Linked DNA regions of Homo sapiens: all the other regions are linked to region 7. The links are contacts of gene promoters, found by promoter capture Hi-C in blood cells and fetal thymus (Javierre and others, 2016). All regions are on one chromosome and are shown on one strand. The core of a region is centred on a gene start or on the middle of the fragment in contact, and the rest is flanking DNA. Distances in the headings are between cores, read along the strand shown.

The links. The method cuts DNA at HindIII sites, captures the fragments that hold promoters and counts their contacts. A CHiCAGO score of 5 or more calls a contact.
Region 1: a contact is called between a fragment that was not itself captured here and the fragment with the promoter of GGH in region 7, in 1 of 17 cell types (naive B cells). The highest score is 5.9, in naive B cells.
Region 2: a fragment that was not itself captured here is called in contact with the fragment with the promoter of GGH in region 7 in 5 of 17 cell types (naive B cells, monocytes, total B cells and 2 more); the score reaches 11.4 in naive B cells.
Region 3: a fragment that was not itself captured here is called in contact with the fragment with the promoter of GGH in region 7 in 3 of 17 cell types (endothelial precursors, monocytes and total B cells); the score reaches 11.9 in endothelial precursors.
Region 4: a fragment that was not itself captured here is called in contact with the fragment with the promoter of GGH in region 7 in 1 of 17 cell types (total B cells); the score reaches 8.0 in total B cells.
Region 5: a contact is called between a fragment that was not itself captured here and the fragment with the promoter of GGH in region 7, in 4 of 17 cell types (total B cells, monocytes, naive B cells and 1 more). The highest score is 11.5, in total B cells.
Region 6: a fragment that was not itself captured here is called in contact with the fragment with the promoter of GGH in region 7 in 1 of 17 cell types (M0 macrophages); the score reaches 5.3 in M0 macrophages.

What each region holds. Positions count from the first base shown.
Region 1 is chr8:61,743,334-61,746,033 of GRCh38, forward strand. No RefSeq gene overlaps it. Among named protein-coding and RNA genes, the nearest start is that of MIR4470, 30 kb to the left of the region's middle. The HindIII fragment of the contact is 9,334 bases long and covers 1-2,700 here.
Region 2 is chr8:61,654,289-61,656,988 of GRCh38, forward strand. The region is part of intron 3 of ASPH (aspartate beta-hydroxylase); the gene reads right to left. Among named protein-coding and RNA genes, the nearest start is that of ASPH, 59 kb to the right of the region's middle. The HindIII fragment of the contact is 1,275 bases long and covers 781-2,055 here.
Region 3 is chr8:61,764,839-61,767,538 of GRCh38, forward strand. No RefSeq gene overlaps it. Among named protein-coding and RNA genes, the nearest start is that of LINC02842, 19 kb to the right of the region's middle. The HindIII fragment of the contact is 4,158 bases long and covers 1-2,700 here.
Region 4 is chr8:61,637,674-61,640,373 of GRCh38, forward strand. It overlaps ASPH (aspartate beta-hydroxylase), which reads right to left. Exons shown (of 25, transcript NM_004318.4): 11 at 649-690; 12 at 274-330. Among named protein-coding and RNA genes, the nearest start is that of ASPH, 76 kb to the right of the region's middle. The HindIII fragment of the contact is 289 bases long and covers 1,233-1,521 here.
Region 5 is chr8:61,681,887-61,684,586 of GRCh38, forward strand. It overlaps ASPH (aspartate beta-hydroxylase), which reads right to left. Exons shown (of 25, transcript NM_004318.4): 2 at 2,153-2,302. Among named protein-coding and RNA genes, the nearest start is that of ASPH, 31 kb to the right of the region's middle. The HindIII fragment of the contact is 6,282 bases long and covers 1-2,700 here.
Region 6 is chr8:61,615,149-61,617,848 of GRCh38, forward strand. The region is part of intron 14 of ASPH (aspartate beta-hydroxylase); the gene reads right to left. Among named protein-coding and RNA genes, the nearest start is that of ASPH, 98 kb to the right of the region's middle. The HindIII fragment of the contact is 5,854 bases long and covers 1-2,700 here.
Region 7 is chr8:63,037,522-63,040,221 of GRCh38, forward strand. It overlaps GGH (gamma-glutamyl hydrolase), which reads right to left and starts at 1,285. Exons shown (of 9, transcript NM_003878.3): 1 at 1,139-1,285. The coding sequence starts at 1,247. RefSeq lists a silencer at 1,319-1,678. The HindIII fragment of the contact is 10,760 bases long and covers 1-2,700 here.

The sequences.
Region 1 (2,700 bases), core at 136-2,635, 1.3 Mb before region 7:
TGAATGTAGGAATGTGGTAAACAAGTGTTAAAGAACTGCAATAGCAAAATGGGCACAGTTAGAAAATAGAGATAGTGTGCAGAAAGCAGCTATCCCTGCTGGGATTTAATAGTCCAAAAGGAAGAGTTTGTGATTCTTAGAACCTAAGAGCTTGAAGGAAAGGCCCATCACAGTGGGGACCTAGACCTCACAGGAAGGGGTACCACAGGATTGGTGCTGATTCCTCTGAAGGAGTGCAATGAGGCTAGCATTGGGAGCATGGAAAAAACTAGCAACCAGAACAACTACTATTGTAAACAAGACCATTGCTGTACCTAAGCTCCTTGCTGGAGTGACCCTAACAGAGTGAACAGGAAGGAGCATGTGCCTGGTCCTTCTCAAACTTCTAGTCTCCCTCTAGGGCCTCCTGCTCATGAGACATCATAGAGCACAGTATGACAAAGGAGATGCGGGGTTTGTTGAGTCCCACCCTGACATCACAAAGCAGAGTACAAAAGAGTGGGTTTGTAGTCCCCCAAATAGCTTGATATCCAGCACCAATGTTTAAGCAATATGTGTATATTACTTAAAAATAAATATTGATCCCTACCACATTATACACAAAAATCTATGCCAGACAGATTTTTAAATGTAATTAGGAAAGGCAAAACATAATTTATCTAGAAGAAAACATAGACAATATAGGAGAATAGCTTTGAGAGAGGAGAAGAGAGAGAGAGCGCGCGCACGCACACAACAGCAACAAAAAGTTAACAAATAATGAATCTAGGTGAAGGGCATATTGGTATTTATCATACTATTTTTCAACTTTTGGTAGTTTGAAAAATTTTAAAACATTTGAAGCAAAATAAGCAAAAGAACACTGATCAATGACAATGAAAAAAATACAGTAGTATCCATTCCCATGTTCTAAATTACTTTCCAGCCTGATGGACACCTGGAGACATTGGTAAACATGTTTGTTCAACACCAGTATGACTTTACTTTGCCTCAAAATTAGCATGAAAGTTTTCTTTGCCAGTACGAAATAATTCAAAGTTCAAAAACAATTTGATAGTCTAAATTCTAATGGGAGGCGGTATTCATTCAATTTTTTAGAAATATGTATAAGATGAGCCAGGCACGGTGGCTCACGCTTGTAATCCCAGCACTTTGGGAGGCTGAGGCAGGCAGATTGCCTGAGCTCGGGAGTTCGAAACCAGCCTGGGCAACATGGCGAAACCTCGTCTCTACTAAAAATACAAAAAATTAGCTGGGCGTGGTGGCTGGCGCCTGTAATCCCAGCTACTCGGGAGGCTGAGGCAGGAGAATAGCTTGAACCCGGGAGGCGGAGGTTGCAGTGAGCCGAGATCACACCACTGCACTCCAGCCTAGACGACAGAGCAAGACCCCGTCTCAAAAAAAAAAAAAAAAAAAAAATTTGTATAAGATGATTTAATTTGACTATTTCTAGGGCTGGTCCATTTACTTAGTATTACATTTAAATTAATACCAGCATGGGGGCCAAGAATGATTTTAAAATATATTAAACATTTGTATTGTCTAAGATAAGTCAAAAGAAAACGCAATCAAAAGTAACAAATTCTTTAAAAGGCTCTTTCTCTACTTATCTTTGTCTCTTACACATTTTACAGCTTCAAAAATCTTTCTTTAAATGTGAAACCTCCCTTACTGCTCAGCTCCAACACAGACTCACTTCTCCCCATGTAGTTTCTTATATTTTAAAATCCATTTTTTTCCTTACTTACTATTTGTTTTTATTTTCAATCTAAATCCTACCTCCCAGCTTCTGGCTTGTCCTTATTTTTAAATTCTTTTTACTTTTGTTCAGTTAAGATAAGGTAACTGCTGTAACAAAGGGACCCAAAAATCCAGGGGCTTCAAGAAAAAAGATTTTTTTTTTCTTTCTCATGTTAACAACTCCAAGGCAGATGCTCTAGCTTCATGATTCAGCTCTGCTCCATGTGGTCACTTCACAATCCAGGCATTTTCTGTTTTAGAGCTCCACAATTCCCTAAAGTATTGTCATCATCTGCATGGTTAAGGTTTGATTACTTTGGATTCCAGCAAACATAAAGGAGGAAAGTAGGATATTGAGGAGGCAGCCCACAAGTGACAAATATAACTTCAACTTGTGAGAACTTCGTCACATGGCCACACTTAAAATATAAGGGAGCCTGAGAAATGTGGTCTAGCTATGTATCTGATAACAAGGGATGAATAATGAGTAGCTTTGTTGGATAACCAAAAATTTCCCCAGACTACTCATTATTCTTCAATTTAAAAAAAAAAACTTTGAAGATTAGAAAGGAAGGGCCATGTGTATGTTTTGGGGATGTCTAGTGTTATGGCTGTGAATAGGTTAATACTGCTGTTTTTCTTGTCTGCAGATGCTTTTTATGTACATTAAACTGCTCAGTTCAATAAATACTTCTTGACTATCTGCTATGTGCTAGGCACAATGTTAGTGTATTCATCCATTTTCTTTCTTTTTTAAAAACATTTTTATAGATTCAGGTGGTACACATGCAGGTTTGTTACATGAATATATTACATAATGGTGTGGTTTGGGCTTTATTAGTCCATTTTCTGTTGCTACAACAGAGTAACACAGAGTGAGGAATTTATACAGAAAAGAGATTTATCTATTGCTCATTGTTCTGGAGGTTGGGAATTCCATGATCAGGGGCTGCCTCTGGT
Region 2 (2,700 bases), core at 168-2,667, 1.4 Mb before region 7:
CCAGTCTAAAATCTATTATATTAACTTAGTTATTTGAAGTTATTTGATATTTTGTATGTGGAACATTAAAATAGGTCCTCAATTAAATCCAAGTATTTAGAAAACAGCTAAATTCAAGAGTTCAAAGATTCCGTTTGCTGATCCTGGACTCCTCCTGACCTCATTAAGAATCTCCTACCAAGAGTAGTCACTGTGCATGGACAGCCTGCGGCAGGAAGGTCAAGGTGATGTGAAGGGCAGTATTCTAATCTTAAGCAGCTCTGTGCAGCTCATGTATGCACACTAATGTGGTCTGGAAAATTTTCATTTCGATGTATTACTCTTCTTTTTTATTATTTTTCCTATGTCTCTTCATGTTTCTTTTATGGACAAAAACATACTCCCACATTCCTCTTCCCAAATCTTAAAAGAAACAGAGACAGATACACAGGACCCTGCCACATCACTTACATTTCCTCTAGTTACCATTTGCAACACTATTTCCACACAAAACTCACCACTAGTACACCTGACACCAACACATACAGTTGTGTTCTATACCTAAGTTACCTCTAACTGTAAGACAGGCTGCAAAGGGATTATACACAGGTCCTAATTGTAGTTCAAGTTCAGGGAGGAGGGGGTAGAGATGAAGGCCTAGTAAAAGACATCACATTTCAAATTCAAATTTAGGGCTGCCCTCCCTTTTACCATTTAAATAATCATTTTTACATCCCTCAACTGTTAATGGAACAGGTATGGAATGATTCATTGCCAAGTTCTGCTGAATGAATGGGAAAAAGCTTAAGAATCTCAAGAATCAAGTAATTTATCTTTGCACTCTCAGCACCTCAGCTAACACTTGGCACATAGCAATTGCTCAATGAACACTTGTTGAAGGGCTGAATACACCCAGTGGTGTGACTACTCTGCTAAGTCTAAATGGCTGTGGAGATTCCCTGCAGGGCCAGGGCTTCTTAGGTGCACTCCAGTAGCTGAGTAGAAGAGGGAAGGGGACTCACATTAGTACTTCTCTACTCCTATGTACCAGAGATCCGTATTTCTGCTCCAGCATCCACCATTTCAGTGTCATAAGTCTAGTTTGCCTGAGACACTCCCAGTTTATGTCTGCTGTCCTGAGATTATTTCACTCTCAAAACTATCTGTCTGAATGAAAAATTACAGGGTCATCCTTCACTGACCCCACTTTAGCAGGCTCTCAAACTGTGTTCCGTGTGTTATACAAGCAATGAAATGTTTTCTCACCAAACGATAAAGATCTAAACTGCCTGAAAACCCCATTCTTAATGAGTTTTGAAGTTTCATTTGAAAAGTCATAATGCTACGTGTTCAAATACTACTAGTATACCAACATTCCGACATACAATGCCCCTGAGAGTCAGCTTTCTCTAACCAACTTGAACTTATTTGTCTCTAAAATTGAAATTGCAAAACATAGGAAAAACAGGAGAAAGCAAAAGCACAGAGCAAAAAATATTGATTATTTTACCCTGTCCAAAGTGGAAGGTGTATTATAAAATTGTTAATACCTGGTCATAGCTATTTCCAGATATGAAATCAGTACAAAAAAAAATTGTAAACTTCAAAGAAGCTGAGATCATATTACTGTATCTCCTCCTCTAGACCTCTATAAACTTTTTGAAACTTAACAAAAACACATTCTAGACTATAATTGCTTTAACAACCCATATGGAAGAATTTGCCGTACAAGATTTTATTTCAGTGTTTCCAAAAAACTTTTTGCCACCCAAGCTCATTTTAGTTCTAAAATTTGAGGGAAAAAGCAAGCGAAAATGAATCAAGAAAAGTAAATGCATATAAGCTCAATTCAGTCATAGGAAAGGTTTTCAAAAATGGATTTATTATGAGGTACAAGTGGCAATGAAGTAGCAATGAAATAAATATTCAAAATTAGGTTATGACATGAGATGTGTCGGTTTCGATGTTCCTGGGGCTGCAGTTACCAAACTGCCAGCTTATAATGGTTGGGTAGGAAGGAAATTTATCATCTAACTAAACAAGAAGTGCGGAGGCGGCTGACTGCATCGCAGGTCAAGCTTCACCCTCAGGCTGGCAATCAGAGCTCCCCAGCTGCAAGCTTCTTTTTCAGACAAGGCGATGTCCAGAAGCAAAAGGAGCATCTCTTGCTCTGCTTCTTTCTTAGGCTTGAGGAAATTTTTTCCAGAAGCTACCAGCAGTCTCCCTTTTCAGTGTTAATCATCAGGACTGGGACCCACTTCCATTCCTGTGCTGCCAAGAGGAACAGGGTGTCCACAGCCGCCTTCCAGTCATTATGTATGGTGAATAGATACTGCCAGTCCACAGCAATGGCCACAACATGATTTGGAAAACACATTAATTCCCTTAAAACATACCTTGGTTTTAGTTCTTTAGGTTAATCAGATAAATTTGGAAATTATAAAACATTTGCATTTAATCACTATATAATTGCCCCTCCAATTTTAATTAAAATTAGATGAAGCTATGAAATGCAAATGAAATCAGCACTTTAAATCAACCACTCATAGCAAATATGAGTGACACAAATACCCAAGCCCAGGATTAGCTTACTTTATTCACTGCTGCCCATAATGAGAAAGAATCAATATATTTCTTTCCATAAATATGCAGTAGTTGTAAACTTACTAAATTGTATGTTGTATTTAATCGTTCAACAAATATTTAGCACCTATTAATTCA
Region 3 (2,700 bases), core at 165-2,664, 1.3 Mb before region 7:
TATAATTTCTCATGATTAAAATTTGAAAATATTCTATGTTAGTTCTATGGCCCCAATAATGTGTTATTATATCTGCAACTTATATAAAGTTAAGAAATATAAAATTGTATTTAGTCCAATAAAATTGTAAATGTGAGTGTCTTTTAGATATTTAATATTGTGAATACTTATTTAACAGATCATAAGGGCTTAATGTGTTGGTAAACTTTGTAATTTCTGGATCTTTGGTTAGCTTTAAGACCTTAGACTAATATAAAATTAAGCTAATTAATAAAAGGTATATGTATACCACAACTATTTCTAAATAAAAATAAAATGTTTAAATATCATTCAAGAAACATTATTTTGGGTTTTACTCATTTCCAATCTTTACAAAATACTACAGACTAATAGGGCATTTGAATGCCTTTGAATTATATATATATCTGAATGTGTTTATCTCAAGTTTATTAAAATGCAGTATAAAATGTGTACTCATGGAAAAAATCTAAGTAGATATTGCTTCTAGTTTCCTTGTGGCCAGGAAAACAAAAGTTGATTAGTTAAAGGTGGTAATTAATATAAATGTTTGAGATGACACTAAGTACTATAATTACAGAGTAAGACAAATGAGTATACAAGATGATAATATATTTTGTCTGTTTTCTTCTTAAAGGAATTATTATAATTTATTAAAATGGAAAATCCCATTAGGCAAATACTATATATTTTAAAATTTAGCATGCTGACAGTTAACTGCATTTTAGAGCTAAACTTAATAATTTTATTATCTGTTTGCTTAGTTATATATTCATGTATGTTTAAATGCATAAATACAAGAATATCTTTATATTACTTTTAAAAGTGAATAAATAATGAATAAGATAATGAAAGACAAAATTGAGGACACTCTGTGAATATAAGAGACCTAAAGAAAATGATGTTACGGGTTTCTAATACCAAAGATGACGTAATAATCTCCTAATGGCCTCCCCTCCTAATGCCCCCACATTGGGGGTTAAGATTTCAGCATATACATTTTTGTCTAATACAAACATTCAGTCTGTAACAACCTCTAAGGCATTTCATCTGTCATTCATAGACGGCTCTGCTGCAGTGTCTTTGGGCATGGAAAGGCCGTTGAAGTTGTTTATTCTCATCTCCCTGGCACTTCATTGTTAGAAAATTAGAACTTGGAAGCTCAGAGAGGTGACGTGATTAGCCTAAGGTCACAAAGCTATTTCATAAGAAGGATAGGGCTAAAACTGTTTAGTCACTTTATACTCTTACCACTGAGTTCCTTTGACATTGGAGGGGAGAAAATTTTACTCATAAAACTCAGTCTTGGTGAACATTGAAAATAATACTTTTAGAGGGAAAGGGCCTTTAAATCAGGCTTATTACACTGTTTGTGGTCAAGTAATATAGGAAGGAAGTAGGTTTTTTTAGATGTCTGAAAATTTAGTGGTGATCAGCTATAATATAGATACATTGAGATTTTACTTTCTAACATTCTACCTTCATGTCTTCAACTTTTATAAACCCAATAAAATAAATGAACAATGGAGGCTACCCATTTAAGCTGGGTTTTTTTCAACCCCATTTGAAATTTAAGCTGGGTTTTCTTCAACCCCATTTGAAAATCTTAGAAGAAATATCAACAGGGTGATTCCATAAATACTCAGTTTTACCTTCAAAATGGAGAATTAATTCAAACAAATTGTGTAAACGTGTTTCTTTTTGAGAGTTTCATATTGATTAATTCATGAAATGGTTATAAACAAACCTTTTTTTTAGCAGTTTGTGCTGCTTTTATGAATGCTATTTCATTTCATAATGCTTAAAATAATAAATTTATGAGGCATTAGCTCTGAAGGCCATGTTAATAATTCCCTGTGTTAAATTCCTGACTTTATTGATGAGGAAAGAGGATCAGAGAAAGTGAAGGACTCACCTATAGTTACCAGTGCATAAATGGAAGAGCTATGTTTGTATCCAGGCTTTACTTCAAATCTGGCCCTCTGTCCATTGCATCAGAACCCATGAACTGACCCAATTCAAACAACTCTCATTTAGTTCCATATGGTGTTACATGTGATCTATTTTTTAAGCAGACTATGATACAATAAAAATGCTGATTCCAAATAATATGTCTTACAAAGTAGCATCCTTTCCAGAAGAGAATGCCTCTCTCTCCACAGTATCAAACAGCTTCTGGTGGAGCTTCCACAGTAAGTGTGACCTCTGGAGACACAACATAGAGTCTGCTGGCTAGAGAAGATATAGGATCCTAAAACTCTTATTATCTGTGACTGTGAGAGACTTGAAACTTCTCCTTCACCTAAGATTCTTTTCCAACCTCGTAAGTACTTGACTAAGATATATTTGTGTGATGACTTTGTCCAGCTGAAGTAATCTAAAAACCTTGATGGGCTGGAAATGGTGAATTTTTCTTCTGTTGGTGACTAATGCAGTGAGCAGGCAGTTTTTCTAGTTCTTTTAAGGCAGCATCAGCCTAAAAGGTCACGGACAGGCATTAGCAATGCGAGAGTACACAGAAGTTAATTTCAAAACAAATAAAGTGGATGGAGCAATTCAACAACTGTGCATTCTGAAATGCAAGTAAATGACTTATATGCTCAAGTGATTTGAAGCATAAGTATTGATGACTTGTGTGGCTTTTAACCATATCTGGGAAACTCTCATGTGAGTATTTAATCC
Region 4 (2,700 bases), core at 127-2,626, 1.4 Mb before region 7:
CCTCCACACCCTCATCAATTGTTTGCTGTTACAGTAGCCTGTTTTTATCACTATCATTGTACTTCTCATAATCCTTAATTCCGTTATTTATTATCTGTTTGGCCACTGGAATGCCAGCCCCAATGAAAAGAGGACTCTGTGTTTTCTTCCCTCTTGTACTCCTAGCTCCTATGCACTGTATAGACAGCAAGTAGGAAATGTTCGATAAATAACTGAATAAACAAACACAATTCTCATATGGAAGGTAAAACCACTTCCATAAATTTATCTTACCTTCTACAATTACCTGTGAATCTTCTACAGGATTATCCTCAGGGGGAGCAGTTACTTCTAAAATAAAGAATAAAATCAGAATCCATTACATGTTGCTGACCAGTGACACATCTTACATTCACTCGCCTTCATTCAGATTCCTAAATTAACTCGTGTCCACTCAGATTGCTAAATTTGACTCTTTTTAAACTGGGTCTTCTGCAGAGTATTTATATTAGAATATTAACTTTAATTTTGATACTCAATTATTTTCTTACTGACTTGAAAATGTCTTGCATTTTTTCTACACTGACTCTTTGTTCCACAGGTAGGAGTTTTAACAAAATACAGGGAAAGCTGACTTGCAGAAAATATGTGCTTACAGAAAAAACTTACCTGTGATTTCTATCCCTTCATTTTCTAGAGGTTCATATACTGCTAAAAAAAAAAAAACAGAAACAAAATCCCGTAACTTTCATTGTAACACAAAAACTGACAACATGCTTTAAGGGCAGAGACAATGCCTTATGCATCTTTGAACCTGCAAGGTTCAGTCACTGGGAAACAGCCGACTAGAGAGTAGGGTGGAGAAGAGTTTGGTCTAGGGTAAAACAGGCCTGGATTCTAATTCCAGGGCAGCCACTTTTTACTACCTTTTTAAAATTTTACTACCTTTTTAAAATTTTCTTCATGTCTGTGGTGGAGGTTTTGAATTAGCCGAAGCTGTACCCTGGGAATCAACTGGATCCTGGTGTTCATGGGCAGATTCCCTGCTTTGTTTAGGAAACAATTCTCAGACCTCTAACCTGGGGCCAAACACCTCTGCCGCCAGCCCCTGAGAATGAAGCGTTCCCCACCCTAATTAGGGCGTGCTGCCCTTGCCTCCCTCATTTGCTGGCATGAGGCTCAGTGCTTCTTCTCTGCTCTGCTGCAAGGAAGTCTCATCTCCACACAGGCCTCTCCAGGGCCCAGTGGCTCAAAGCTTCCTCAGTCAACCTGATCTTCCAAAATACCTCCAATTTTCTGGCACACTACAAGAAAACATCCTTCTTTTTCCCAGCATGGTTGTAAGTTTATTCTTTCTTATTCATTTAATAAAGAAAAATTATTGAGCACCTACTATCTTTCAGACACTCTCAGTATTGGGGTACAGCAGGGAACAATGTTTAATAGGTCGTTTTGTCCTTTTGGGGCATTTGAAAGATGAAGGAGCAGTGAATGTGTGCTCACTCTGTTGCCCTGAGCAGTGTCAGCATTTAAACATGCTCAAGCTTCTAAGAACTTAAAAATGCAATACCACTCTTTCTTAAGCTTGCTTCTCGTCACCCTCTCTTTCTTCCATTGAACAATCTAATTTCTTCAGTCATTTACATCTCATGGCTCATCTCTTCCTCTCCCCTCAACTCACTCCCGCCTGTCTTCAGACCCTGACCCCATCCCTGAAAAGGCTCCTGCTGAGACCCCCTCCAGTGCCTCATTTGATATGATGGACACTCGCCAGCCCTCGCTATATTTTTAGCAACACCATTCTTCTCCAAACACTGTTGCCCCTGGACTTCAGGGTGACCATACTCTCCCCTTTGGTTTTTCGTTTCTCCCACTCAATCTTCTTTTTCACTTCATCTTTTTCTTAGCCGTCCTTAAATGCTGGCTTTCTTCAAAGTCCAGCCATAGAACCACCTCATGTCTCCCTCAATCTGCTCTCCTTAAGGGATCTCAGAGCTTGGTCCTGATGACCACGTAACTACTCTGATGGTTCCCACACTCACAATCACGAAGTAGACTTCTCTTCTGAGAGTCAAACACCACCAAATGGCTCATTTGATCTCTCCTCTCAGATGCCTCAAAGAAATCTCACTATCATCATGTAAAGAACTGGACTCATGAGCCCCTGCCCCGTGCTTGACTCCAGTCTCTCCCACGTTAGGAAAAGAGCACCCCCTGTCACCAGGCTGCAGAAGCAGAAGAGTGTATGTGGCTCTTGGCACCTTGTTGTCTCCCCCCAGCTACACCCATGCATGAAGACCTGCCAATTTTACCTTCTAAGCATTTCTCAACTTTGCCCACTTCCCTCCTCCATCATTGCCACCACCCTTGGTTTAAACTATCATATCTGTCCTATCCGTCCACTGAAACAGTTCCAGCTAAAGTCACCCGTTGAGGCCACTGCAGCGCCAGATCAGGGCAGGTTTTCAGCACTCATCTCACATGGTTCTCAGTAGCGCAGGGCACCACTGAACATCCCTTTCTTGAAACTCATCTCCTTTGGTTCCTTCAGACAGAGAGAGATGTGATGCACGGAAAGACCCAATTTGGATGATTACAGCTAACTTAACTGTTCTCCCTGTATTGACTCTTGTCTCTCCAGTCTGTTTGTTGCATGCCAGACCGATCAATCTTTTCAAAATGCAGATCTGACTTGGCAGTGCTCAAAGGTGAAGATGAACG
Region 5 (2,700 bases), core at 188-2,687, 1.4 Mb before region 7:
CTACATGATTCTAATTCATTATTGGACAATGACTGTGGAGAAACATAATAATGTTAATGTACAGCAATTTTTTAAACAGCTTTCTCAAATACAGCATTAGTACTAAAAAAAAATTTTGGCAATTGTTATCATTTCTTTAACACAAAGTACATTAAAAAATTACAGAAGAACAGGCAGAAATTTTGGCTCAGATTAGTTCTGATCAATCTTTATCTCCCCAGAGCCCTTGCTCTACCTAGGAAAATGGTTAACTTGCTATATAGAAGTCTGACTTAGCAAACACATACACATTTAAAATGATTATGATGAAAGAAGAGATAAGGATGTTATTTCAACTGCTAAGAAAACAAAAAGTACTAATCAAGGCTATGCAGAGTACAGAATTCAAGAAACAGTAAAAGATAGAAAATACTACCCTTTCTGACAAACCCATAATGGGAAATTGGTCCTATCACTTATATTCTGATGTAGATAATAATTAAATTAGTAGAAAAAGGATGAGCCATTAGAGAGTAACACACGTAGACTTGAAATGCAACTCCAATAGCCTACCTTGAAGCACCTCTGATAAGTTATAACGGAAGTCCTTTGCTTTGGCTGCATGCATGTAAAAACATGAAAACTGTTATTTGTGCTTAAAGGTACAAATACTTAAAGTGTCCTCTTTTAAGATACATTCCCTAACAACATATCACTGTAAGTCAGTCAAAGCATAGATCTACTCAGAAATTTGTCTCCAGACTAAAATTCTCCCTCAGTTGGTCTGTCAATCTATCCAGAGACACTTTCTTTAAAGTAATGAAAATGAAAAACTTCAATGAAAGACAGATTACAAATAAGCATATTTTGTTATTCCTACAGCCAAAAATTTGTTTGCCCTTTCTCCCCAAAAATATGTCTATAATTTGACAAGTAAAGCAGAAGCACAGGAAGTCCAATGCAAGGGGATATCACCCATGCAACATTGTACATAGACACAAGTGTGCATTTTTTCCAGTGACAGGTCCACATCTTTCACTGGATTACTAAAGAGGAGGACCATTATTCACAACAGCCAAAAAGTGGAAACAACCCAAATGTCCATCACTGATAAACAGATAACCAAAATGTGGTGTGCCCATATGATGGAATATTATGCAGCCATAAAATGAAGTACTGAACTTTAAAAACATTATGCTAAGTGCAAAAAGGCAGATACAAAAGATCATATAATGTATGGTTCCATTACATGAAATGCCCAGAATAAACAAAAGCACAGACACAGAAAGTAGATTAGTGTTTCCCAGGAGAGGGAAAGAGGAAGAGTTTGGGTATTTAGGGGAAGGGGGTAACAAAAATAATCTGGAACTAGATAATGCTGATGGGTATATAAAATGATGAATATAGTAAAAAAAAACTGAATTGTACACATTCAAATATATATAATATTGAATTTTATTTCAGTTTAAAAAAAGATTTTTGGGGAAGTGAAGGAGAATGTGACTCCAAAAATAACAAAGAATCATTAATGTAAAAAATCATGAAAAACTTCAGTGATTACAGAAAAGGAAAAAGGTGGAGAAAGGACACTATCAGAAGGACCACAGCAACTTCCTCAGAACAGCACACAGATCACACCTACACACACACAATAATATCTACAAACGCCTATCTCAGCACACCCATCCAGTACCTATATGTGTGCACACGTACTCATCCCATCCCAACAGAGACACAGAAGGGTGTACTTTGAAAACCCTCTCTAAGGAAGAGTTTTGCATATTGTGTGGTTATGATCCATTAGCAAGTCCTTAAATAAATGTAATGGCTCATGATCAAGTATTTTTAAAATTTATAATATAACAAAATTGAATAGAAATCAAAAAGTACTGCATATAGTGAGAATGAGTACTGTTTGATAAAACTTCTCCCTGTGTGACAGACATACAATATAAAGCCTTTTTTCAAAAACCTACAGGTCACATTTAAAGAGTTCAAAAGACAATACTCCAAGGTAACCTTCTTCATATCCCCTTTCAGCCTCACTCTATTGAGAACCACTGAAAGGCTATAGAAATTACCAGTACCAGAAAGATGATAACAAATATTCAAGACTCCTAAGAGATGTCACTTACTCTCTTACAAATTCACATAAGGATATCAAAATTCTTACCTAGAACTTCCTCATAGTCAACAAGATCAAACCAAACGACAGCTACAGATGTCCAGACGCCCAGCAATGCAATCACCATAAACCACGTGAAGAATGAAGTTCCTGAGAGTCCGCCTTTCCTCCCATTCTTGTGTCCTCCATGCTTTGTCTCTGTTTAGAAATAAATGTAAGATATCATAAGAAGAAAACATTTTACTGAACACTTATTCTCACAATTATTTCTCCAATAATTTGGGATTATGTACAATGATAGATCATTTCAAAAACAGTTTCCAGTTAAATTCTCAAAACACGTCACACAAAATATTTCTGAAAACAGAAAAGATTGTTTAGATGCAACACTAACTTTGAAGTAGTGCAGGAAATAAACTCCTGAATTTTTTTAAAGATTTAGTATAATATGTATATTCCATCCAAGTTACTCATCAAAATGACCTGAATATTACCTCTTTCCAAAGGCAGAGCACATAAACAACTTAATGAAATCACATAAAAATGTAGCCAAATCCTTTTCTCCGTCCCATTTCATTTCTGCAGAATCTTAAAAA
Region 6 (2,700 bases), core at 43-2,542, 1.4 Mb before region 7:
TGCACTCTCCCCTCATACCTTCTTTACCAGCAATCGCCTCCTTGTTAGGCCTCAAACATGCTAAGCACACATGCCCTGAGGACCATGAGAATGCTCCCCAAGTCTCGGAACTCTTCTCCCAGACGCCGGTGCAACTCCTGCCCTTGCCTCTTCAAATCTCTGCTTAAATGTCACCATCCAAGAGGCCTATTACACAGCAACACCTCCTGCTCATTCTGTTTTCCTTTCCTGTCTTATATTCCTTTTCACACTTCACACTGCCTCTTATATTTTAATTTTTTAAAACTACATATCCAGCCCCACTCTCTCCCCTATACACACTAAAAAGCAAGTACAATGAGAGCTGCAACTGTTTTATTGACTGTTTTGGGCCCAGTGCCTAAAACAGAGCCTGGACATCATAAGTACTCACTATGTACTCAATAAATGGATGAACACGAATGACTGTTTGAATTTGACATTTAACAAGCCATTTTTGTATTGGATTATTTTGTAGTTCACACATTTTGTGACCATGGGCTATGGAATATGTGGGAAAAGATGACATCCAGTGGGGAGAAACTGATATCGCAATTTTATCTAAAACATAAAAATAATCTGATTTGACTCAAGTAACAGATGTCTGCAAATGAGGGCCTATTTTGCCTTAAAAAAATTTCAGTTTCTGTTATTATGAAACTAAAGTCTGATGAGTGAAGGCCATTCCATTTTTTTACTACATATTCTGGATATGTAATGTTTACATAATGTTTCCCTTTCCCTTTTCCTTACCAGATAACAGTATCATATGAATCGATTTGAATAAAAAATACATGGAATTTCCACAGCTCACAATTTGCTCCAATAGATTTTTAATAAATCTGTGATGACATTGATTCATTATTTCTTTTAATTCTGTCTATTCCTGCATTTCCCCCTTAATAAAATACTTTAGTTACAAACATATTTTGGTTGGTACTGATCTAAAGTGCTAATTTTAAATGGGGGGAGAGTGACAAACCAGTCAACAGAAGCCGTTGCAATGATTTTCTTTGCAGGTTCCAGAGGTTCCAGCCTCTACACTTCCCTGGCAAACCCCCTTTAGGATCAGCATCCCTGGAGGTCAGACCTGTGCACCGAGGATACCCGACAGTGCAGGGGAAGGTACGGGCTGCTAAGACTAGAATGGGAGGTCTGGAGCATGAGAGGCAGAGATATGAGGAGCTCACAATTGCAACTGCCCTGTGAGCAGCAGATTTGGGGCAGGTTTGCAAGTGTTTCTGTTTATCTGCAACAAGCCATGCCCACCATTCGGACTCCCTGTCCCTCTCTTTGTAAGAATGCATTATAGTGAACCTCCCAGAAGCAAACCAGTCAATGTGTAAATGAGAAAGGGCTCTGTTTGGTACACAGATGTGCATGGGCTGGGTACGGTGTCCACAGCATGAAGAAAAGTCCAGACTCCCACTGTGGTCTAGTCTTTGACTTTCTCTAACTGTATCTTACACACTCTAGGCTTGTTCAGGTGCTCCAGCTTCTTGGGCCCTTCTCTCTTGTCTCAGGACTTTTGTACAAACTGTTCCTCTGCTCAGAGTGCTTAGGTTTCCCTAACCTCCTGGGACACCTTCTTCCCTAATTCACCACCCCTTCTGCCTACGGCATGCTCTCCTGCTTTGTTTCCTCAGAACTCTTACCACAATTTCAGTCTGTGTGTGTACTGCTGGTCTCCCTACTGGGATGTGAGTTCCCTGAAACAGGAACCTGGTCTGTCTTGCTCTCACCTGCAACCACTTGTCTAGAACAATTCCTGGCATGTAGTTGGCACACTAATTTTAAGGGGATGAAGTGTGTTTTGAGGGGGAAAGATCAGGAGTCGGTTTTAGACTTGTTAAGTTTGAAGTGATTATTACACATCCAACACATTGAAGTTATCAGGCAGACAACATGTAGACAGCTGGACACACCAGTCTAGAGTGCAGGCAAAAGACCCAGGCTGTGAGTAAATTTGGCAATCTGTGGCATACAGAGGCATTTAAAGCCATGAGATTAGATGAGATCATTAAGAGAGTGCGTGTATATGGGGAAATGCTCCGAGGACTAAGTCTGGGGCACTCCGGTGATTAATGGTCAAGGAGATGAGAAACATCCATCCAAAGAGCCTGAGAAAAGCAAACAGTAGAGAGCAGGAGAAAGACCAAGAGAATGTATCCAGCAAGCCATGTGAAGGGAGTGTTTGAAGGACAGGAAGTGATCAACTCTATCAAAAGCTGCTGATTTGCCCCTTCTTGCCTTGTGTTTTCTCATTAGCAGGTATCGCTATCTTATTTATAGTTATGTCCTAAATATATCGGAAGATCCAGGAAGTAAGGCAGCGGAGAGCTTGTGAGAGTATGATGATCGAGCTAATCTCACCGATCTATAAAACAGAGTCAGCCAACGGTTTCTGATATTAAGGAGAAAACTGCAGCATTATACAAATTATTTAGAAATGCATAACTAAGTACTAGAAAGAAACAGCTAAGGCCAGGCACGGTGGTTCATGCCTGTAACCTCAGCACTTTGGGAGGCCGAGGTGGGAGGATTACAACAAGGCCAGGAGTTTGAGACCAGCCTGGCCAACATGGTGAAACCCTGTCTCTACTTAAAAAATACAAAAATTAGTTGGCGTGGTGGCATGTGTCTGTAATCCCAGCTACTCGGGAGGCTGAGGCAGGAGAATTG
Region 7 (2,700 bases), core at 35-2,534:
CTCACAACTTTTGTGGCTTGTCATCTTTCAATCCTTTGCACTTCCCAGAGCAAGATTGTGTACATAGTCGGTACTCAGTTAACGATGTTGTGCTGATCTCAGTGACCAAAAGCAAAGTCCCTTTTTTAAATATTTGACGCAGGGCTACCCCTGATTCTAGGAAAGGGGAAGAATCCCCTCTGCTTTTTTTTCTCTTCTCTGGACACACAATATGCAACCTGTTACATTAATTACAGCTTGAGTTAATTCGTGGAGAATCAAATCACCATGTTAAACAGCTATGAAATAAGTTCCAAATATTAGTAAGCAACCCATTTGAAAACTGGGCACTACCTATATGAAAAAACATTCATCTACTTTCTGTTTAGTTACAGAATACAGTGATAATATTCATAGAAAAAAATAGTATGAAAGGCATAATCCTACAGCCAAAATAAAACTAATCTTAATGTCCACACACAAATTTCTTTGGGCAAATTTTAACCCCAGGATGATTTCTCCTAGGTAGCTTTCCTTGGGCCTGTCTCAAATGTGTGTTTTGGTAACACAGACTGATTTTACTACCTCTTTAAAACACAAATATGTTGGAAACGAAAAATTGTGGGCTGCATTTTAACACCAAATAGAACTCACATTAGGATATCAGCCACTGTTGTCCTCTGCTACTGAACATGACAAAATCCAAGTTATACCTTAATTTCTTGATTTTCTATTACAATGCACTGGTATTTTAAATACGCCATCAATACATTTTGATGAATGCAATGCATGTACAGAATTTGTAGATGTAAATGAGTAAAACTTCCCAACTATGTGCGAAAAGGAAATGTTTTATTTTAGTAGAAATTCCTAGCTGTGTACAAAAAAAGAAAATCCGCAGGATTCTTCATGGTGCACCCTCCTCCCTCCCACCTTTAAGAGTCATATGAGTCTAAAGGAATGAACGAGGTACCTCAACCAGGTACATTTCAGTACGACCTAAATGGTGCCCAGCCCGGGTTCCTCCTTGCACCAAAAGCGAAGCACATCTGGGGGTTTTTCCCGGCGGGACGCGCCAGCTGGAGCGCGGCGGCGGGAGGCGCCCAGCGCCAACACCCAGCTCCTCCCCGTCTGCTGCGGCCCCGCACAGCCTCCTTACCGATGATGGGCTTCTTGGCGGTGTCGCCGTGGGGTCTAGACAGCTCGAGGCTCGCCGCCCCGCAGAGTAGCAGGCCCAGCACGCACAGCAGGCAGCCCGGACTGGCCATGGCGCTCGCCGCCTCCCGCCGCCTTTCAAAAGCTCTGCGGGCGGGCGGGGGCTGCGGCAGGGACACCTCGCGGCAGCGCACTCGCGTGAGACTCGGGTGGGCGGTGCTCCGCAGCGTGGGCCTATGGGAAATGCAGTCCCGGCGCGCGCTAGGCGGCCGTGGGGCGGCGGTGGGAGGCTCTGGGAGTGCAGCCGGCGCTGCGCGCCCGCCCCATTGCTCTGTCCCCGGTCCGCGACCGCGACCGCGACCCCGACCCCCACGGGCCGCCTAAGCGGAGACTCTGGAAACGCCTGGGGCGGGTACCGGGTGGTCTCCGCGTCCTTCCCTTTCAACTGTTACGTCGATGTGGACTTCAGTCACCCGTACAAAGCTGGGCTGGCCAACCCAGGTCCTCGAGAGGGGAGGTTGGGTGTCCCCGGCCGAGTTTGGTAACCAGGCAGCGGGGAGGCTGGCAGGGGATTCTAGAAGGCGCCTGAGAACTGCGCGCCAACCGCACCGCCCCCTTGAAGGTCGGGGCCCTATCTCCGGGAATGGTGACAACGTTCGCTGTACGGACAGCCTGTGCCCCTGAATGTGAATGTCCACACTTGCTATTTGGGGGGTCGCGGCATCTGTAGGAAGTGAAGACGGGACGGCGATAGGAACACACGCACAGGCGCATCACTAGGGTCAGAACTGGGCCAACTCCGGGCGTCTACTTTGAAGCGGGCACGCCCAGGCCACGCCTGCAAACGGCGTCAGCTTCCTCTGATCAACCGCGGTCAGCGCCATCCACCGACCACCACTAAGCCTATCCACCGGGGCAGAAAAGATGACTGGTTCCTATTCGTTAAAACTGTTGATTGTTCCTAAATACATGGATATATAGCTTGTACTCAGTGAAAGTTTCCATCTATAAGGGCCAACTGAAATTCAGCATAAAACAAGAATATTTGAAAACCTGCTACATCAATGCTCAGTATTAAGGGTGAAAACGTAAATTGGACAGTCTTTTTCACAAGAGGTTTAAATTCAGTAAGGAAAAAAGGCAGAAAGCGTGACTCGTAGAGACAACAGGAACAATTTTAGCATGTTGCAAGAAGAGTAAATGCAGTGAATAGTCTGGTTTAACAAGAAAATAACGCTTCTGTAGAAGGGTGTGGTGAGAGGTAAGCAACAAAGGATGTGATGAAAGACATGAAAGGGCCGAGCTGGTTTTGAGCATGATTAAATAGACAAGTAGCCTTGTAAATATGAACTTGTGGTGCCAGAATAATTGACTATCCACATAGGAAAAATTTTTTACCCGGCGTTACACACAAAAATAAACTCGAGGTGAAGTGCATATGTAAATACGAAAGCAAAATATTATACTTTGATAAGAAAATATATAAATATATCTTCCTAACTTAGGCTGTTGGAAGAGTTTCATAAAACATTAAAAATAAAAATGTTAATTAAAAATTGACTATAT